Linked DNA regions of Homo sapiens: region 1 is linked to region 2. The links are contacts of gene promoters, found by promoter capture Hi-C in human tissues and cell types (Jung and others, 2019). All regions are on one chromosome and are shown on one strand. Each heading gives the region's core, a stretch centred on a gene start or on the middle of the fragment in contact. The rest is flanking DNA. Distances are from core to core; before and after follow the strand shown.

The links. Contacts are between HindIII fragments. The study calls those that stand out against the background at their distance.
Region 1: a fragment that was not itself captured here is called in contact with the fragment with the promoter of PTPRCAP in region 2 in 1 of the 25 tissues and cell types used here (hippocampus).

What each region holds. Positions count from the first base shown.
Region 1 is chr11:67,237,326-67,240,213 of GRCh38, forward strand. The region is part of intron 12 of KDM2A (lysine demethylase 2A); the gene reads left to right. Among named protein-coding and RNA genes, the nearest start is that of GRK2, 28 kb to the right of the region's middle. RefSeq lists an enhancer at 2,717-2,776. The HindIII fragment of the contact is 7,033 bases long and covers 1-2,888 here.
Region 2 is chr11:67,436,029-67,438,931 of GRCh38, forward strand. PTPRCAP (protein tyrosine phosphatase receptor type C associated protein) reads right to left here and starts at 1,654. Exons shown (of 2, transcript NM_005608.3): 1 at 1,589-1,654; 2 at 1-322. The coding sequence starts at 1,591. It overlaps CORO1B (coronin 1B), which reads right to left. Exons shown (of 11, transcript NM_020441.3): 10 at 2,643-2,903; 11 at 1-2,473. The coding sequence ends at 2,348. RefSeq lists enhancers at 34-795, 698-757, 1,073-1,605, 1,606-2,138, 2,139-2,671 and 1 more and silencers at 978-1,347, 2,598-2,737. The HindIII fragment of the contact is 14,275 bases long and covers 1-2,903 here.

The sequences.
Region 1 (2,888 bases), core at 288-2,787, 200 kb before region 2:
TTCTCTTCAGTTGATAATTTGGGGGTTATTCTGACACTAATAGAACTAGAAGAAGACCCAGTATAGTTAGCTCTTATTCCATTAAGCCAGATTTTTAAATGTTTTTAAATTTTTCTTTATTATTATTATTATCATTATTATTATTATTAGCAACGAGGTCTTGCTGTGTTGACCAGGCTGGTCTTGAATCTTGAACTCCTTGCCTTGAGCAATCCTCCTGCCTCGACCTCCCAAGTGCTAGGATTACAGGCATGAGCCACCTTACCCAACCAACTCAGCTTTTTGTTTGTTTGTTTGTCCTGGGTCCAGGCTTACAGATTTTTTTTTGTAAAGCAACCTAGGCCAGATGTGTTAGCTCATGCCTATAATTCCAGCACTTTGGGAGGCTGAAGCAGGAGGATCACTTAAGGCCAGGAGTTCAAGACCAGCCTGGGCAACATAGTGAGACTCCATCTTCAAAAAAATTAAGAAATTAGCTGAGCATGGTATTGTGCACCTGTAGTCCCAGCTACTCAGGAGGCTGAGGTCTAGGCTGTAGTAAGCTGTCATCTACCACTGCACTTTAGCCTGGGCAACAAAGCGAGACCCTGTCTGAAAAAAAAAAAAATTTATATCCTGTTATAGGATATATTTATTTATACAAATAAAACTTTATTTGCAATATTTACTAACAAGATATTTGTAATAATTCATACATTCTTACTGAATAGAAAGTTTTAAGTAATGTAACTCAGTTATGAGGCATATATGCTTAAAGTTACATATAATTATTTTAAATATTTTCCTTATATTCTTGTATTATGTAATGTCATGGTCTTAGTAATTCTTATCTTTTTTGCCTATCTTTTATTCTCAATTAGCAGGAGGGGGTAAAGTTAGGCCTTGTTTAATTTGTGATTTGGAAACTTACTGGGAGTGAGTTTCCTAGTGCCCGATGTGATTTTTTTCCTTTCCTGGTGGCCTCTAGAATTTGCACTTGCTGCAACTTGAACTTACGTTTGTTTTAAAGTAATATGTTTTCTCTTAAGTATTCATACTTTACTATCTCTATAATATAGATAGCACTGAAGATCAAAATAAGCATTTTCCAAGAAGACCTCTCAATAGCTAGATCACTGTTAAGGAAAGCCTTTCAAACAAAATAAGCCGATTGCAGTGGGTCTTGAGTCTTAAGATACAGTGTCCGGGAGAAGTTTAGGGTTAGGATGACCATATAAGCATTTCCAGGAGAAGCTCAGCCGAGAGCACAAAAGTCTGTCCTTCCCCTGGTAAACTACTATAAAAATAACATATGTAGCCCCTGGCAGCAAAGCTCCAGACTTTAGAAAGCCTAGTTAGCCACTAAATCTGTACCAGAAACTCACTCAAACAACTGTCCTGGAAATAAATAAGAATGCTTAAGAGCTAGATGCTTAAATCAGAGCATCTGCAAAAAAGGCAAGTTATACATTTGTAAGGGTCTAAAAGTCACATAAAAATCACATTGGCTCTAAAAAAGACCCAAACTGTTTCTGCTAAGTATTTGATTCCTACTCAGGTTCTCCCATGCTGATGTTTGGTACACTGTGGATCACTAGAAACTCAACCAGAGTGTGCACCCTCCTTTCCTCCTGTAGACTGAAAGGAGTGTGTGTTCAGTCTGAGCTTCATCCCAGCTGGGGATCCGGGGATCAGGGTTTGTTGTGCAGAGGTGTGAGCAATACTTGTCAGTCCGAGTGGCTGTGAGAAGGCAGTGAGGTGTCTTGACAGGATGCAGGACTGGCTGCTTCATCTGGGGAATATCAAGAATGAGACAGGCAAACAGACTTGAATAGAAATGGAAATCCAAGAGTACAATACTGGTATTCTGAGGGTAGGATAATCTTACAGGCAGAGGAGACTGCTGGAATTGGGAGAATGTGTGTTCCCTGGCTTCCTGCACCTTGTTTAGAGGCAGGAGGGCAAAGTGTGTTGTGCCTCAGTTGTTTGACTTGGTCACGGTGGAACTGCTGCAGGATTGCTGCGCAGACATTTCTAGTACTGTACTGTGGGGGTGGAGTCCTTGTCAGAATCAGAAGCAGGCATCTGTTTTAGATGTAGTTGATGTTAGCCGTATTTTATTGAATATCTCAATATTGGCTGACATGGGCCATTTCTGAAGGTTTTTTGGAACACATAGGCAGATTCTGGATTGTGGGCTGGGAGCAAGTCAGCGAGGGCAGGTGAAGCAGGCAGTGTGCCGGAGAGAGAAGATAACTCAAGAGGAACTCAGCTCCTGTGCCTAGTTCATCCAGAGAGGCGGAACTTTGGGCGACCCCCTCTACTTGCTGAGAGGGGAGAGAGAAGTGTGTGTGCAGTCAGCCAGAGAGCTCTGGCAGTAACAGTGGTAACAGTGAGAGGTGACCCTGAGGGGAAGGGTGTGGACTGAAACAAGGACAAATGTGGGCCAAGGTGCCTAGTGTAGCCCGCAGAATGAGTTAAAGCCTTCCCTTTGGCTGGCGCCTTCAGAAGTCTGCCACCGGGAGCCCTCAGGGGGCTGGCCCTAGGTTCTCCTATTGCAGTGGTGGTGGGAGGGAGACAGGGCGGGGGCTGTGGCTGAGCTCTCCTCCCTGGCAGGGCCTCTTCCAATCGCGAGGAAGAAAGCAGTTGCTGAACACACCCCCTCCCGGCTCTGCAGCAGAACGGCTGGGCCCTCTGCCTGGCTCGCTCACTCTCGCTCGGCTCCCCCTCCTGCCATCTTCCGTTGCAAAGCATTTCTGGGAGCTGCATGTGGGTGACGCAGCAGCATTGTTCGCAGGCACAGGAAGCCGCGGCTGAGCTGAAGGGCTCGAGAAGGAGCCCAGAGCGCTGCACGCTGCTCCCTCTGGGTAGTCTGAAGGGTCAGAGCTGGACTGCCCTGCCCTATGTGC
Region 2 (2,903 bases), core at 404-2,903:
CCTCCTGTCGCTCAAGGTCATTGTCTGTGGACCCCAGCTCAGCTCGGGCCTGCAGCCAGCGACCTGGGGGGCTGGCCCAGAGCAGGCGCCGCGTGCGGCCCCACAGCGCGGCACCTAGGCGGGCCGGGTGGTAGTAGCCCCCTGAGTCACGGCTGAGGCGGCGCCAGGCCAGTGCTAGGCCAGTGGCCAGCAGTAGGAGCAGCAGCAGCAGCAGGACAACGGTGACAGAGCTGGAGCCCACGCTGTCCTCCGCGCTGCCACCCGAGCCCAAGGCCCCTGGCAGGGCCAGCAGCATCCCGAGCCCTAAGGTGCAGGGCAGAGCCTGTGGGAGACAGGCAGGGGCTCAGAGGGCTCAGCACCTGGGGTGGGGCCTGGTGTGGGGCAGGCTGGGTGACCAAGACCACTTTCGTTTTTTTCTCTTTGGGATCCTCTTGGGACAGCCAAGCAGAAAAGGCCAAGGCCTTATTTGGTCAACCAGGCTCTGGCCCTGTGAGATCAGCCCCCATCCCTCCAGCCTCCTCCCTACCACTCACCTCCCCCAACAGCTGCATTAAGCCACCTGCCTGGGGCCTTCGCACTGGCTGTTCCCTCTGCCCGGAAAGCTCCACCTCCTCCCATCCTCCCCTCCCCCGGGCTGCATGGCCTGCTCACCGTGCTCAAACTTCACCCCAGTGAGGCTGAACCTGACCTTAACCTCTACCCTGATGTCTATCACTGCAGCCCACCCCAGCACCCCCCAGCACTCAGTGCCTTTTTCCTTCCATGTCACCTAACGCAGGAGATAACTGTACTCATTTTTTATGTCTATTGTCTTATCTACCCCCCACAATAAGCTGCTAGGAAACGGGGGCTTTTTGGGTCAAGCATGTTAGTAGGTGCTCAATAAGTATGGATTAAATGTGTCTAGGCTGCCTGGGTGGGTGGGAGAGGAGATGGGAGGGAGGGAAGGAGGTTGCTAGCTGGTGTCAGGGCTGGCTCTCCCTGAGGCCTGGGATGGGGGATGGAGGGGCCTGGATGCACCCAGAGGCAACTGCTCATCTTCTGCTTGGCCAGGTCCCCAAACGGGGGTCCGTGAGGCCCCTCTTCCTCCCTCCCCACCACGGGGCTGCCCCAGCGGCAGGGTTTCCGTTCCACTCCCAGTCCCTGAGGGCCACAGGCGTGCAGGGCCGGGGGCTGGGGGGGGCTGGGGGAGGCGGGCGCAGCTGCCAGAGGAAGTCTGCGGTCGGAACAGGCTAGGTGGGGGGTGTCGGGGGAGGGGTGCTGAGGTGCAGCCAGCCTCCCCCACCACCCCAGGCTGTCCGCCCAGGCTCCAGGAATGCAAGTTCCCGCTCACAGGAAGACCAGGTAAGGGCCTTCCCAGGGCTCCTGACAGGGGCCTGGTCCGGTATGGGGTGCTGGGGGCCAGGCCTGGAGTCCCAGGGAGCCCAGCTCAGGTGAGAGAAAGGTTCAGCCTCTGCCATACTCCTCTTAGGTCTCACCTCTTCCCTGGGGCCAATGTGGGGCCCTCCTTAGCTCCACAGGCCCAGACATTCTAGCCCCGACCGCCTGTGGCCCCCATCCCAAGAACCCGGGGGGCTCCGAGGCTTACCATTGGTCCGCAGGCCCCTCCGTGCCGGGCACCCACCTCCAGCTCTGGCTGTGTCGAGCGAGAAGTGAGCTCAGTGCTCGTCTGCAGTGAAGGGTGGCCCAGGCTTCCGCTTCCTGCCCACATACCCCACCTGCCCCTCCCTGCTGCAGGACCCCTGGTCCACACCAGACCCTCCCCAGTCTCTCTGGAGGAGGCTGGGCTGCCGGGCCTGTCCTCCAAGGAAGAAGCAGCACCAACTTGAAGCTGGATGCAGCCTTGCATGTGTTCTCAGGTCTTCTGCCTCAGTTTCCCTGCCTGACAATCCAGGGGAGCAATGCCTGTGGGGCTGCTCACTGCCCCCAGACCTTCTGCACATGTGTGACTCCTGTGACATCCTCTGTCTCCAGGTTTCCAGACTTCTCAGCCCCACCCTTGCAGCAGCAGGTCAGCCTGGCTTTTAGAAAGAGAATTTTATTTGGAATGAAAATATAGAGCCCACCCTCCCGCCTCCTCTGGGGAGGGAGCAGAGGGCTGGGCAGTGGTCGGGGAGATGGTCCCTCAGAGGTCGAGGAGCTCGCCTGGGCGTAGACATCCTCCACAGGAACAGTGAGGAAAGCTGGGCGCTGGCTTCGGCCTGGGCCTGGGACGGGTGGGGGTGGGAACTGACCCCTGCGCTGCCTCAGAGGCTCTGGGCAGCCAGCTAGCCCGGTGCGACCCGCTGGCAGAAGCTGAGTGGGAAGGGGGCGGCGGAGGAGATGAAGGTGGCGTGTGGCTGTGGCCCTACGCATCCCCGTTCTCCATGCGGCCCAGCTGCTCCTCCAGGCGGCAGATGCGGTCGCCCTGCTCCTTGACCAGCGCCCTCAGGGCCCGCAGCTCCTGCATCACCTCCTCCAGCTTCCCAGCCTCCTGTGGGGACATGAAGCAGGGGTAGGGGGCGGTGGTCAGGGGCTGCTAAGCCATAGCCCTCCCAAACCCACCACTACCCCAGAGAGGGACAGCGAATGGCTGAAGCCCACACAGCAGGCCAGGGCCACACCTGGGGCTCCCAGCACCACCCCTGCCTGCGCGTGCATACCCCGGCTCTGGCCAGGCTGCCGCTGGGGGTGGCATCAGCAGCAGTGGTGGTGGAGGCGGGGGCCCCTAGGTGGGAGGAGCCCGGGGCCATGGCGGGCCGGCTGTCAGACAACACGTTGCGCCGGCTGATCTTCAGGTCCCGCTGCTTGCTGGGCACGTAGGCCTCCCGCAGTGAGATGAGGATCGGGTCGGCATCCCGCCCGCTCACCCACTCCTCAGCCTCCAGGGCTGCCTCGGGCCCGGCTGTGTCGGGGTACAGATC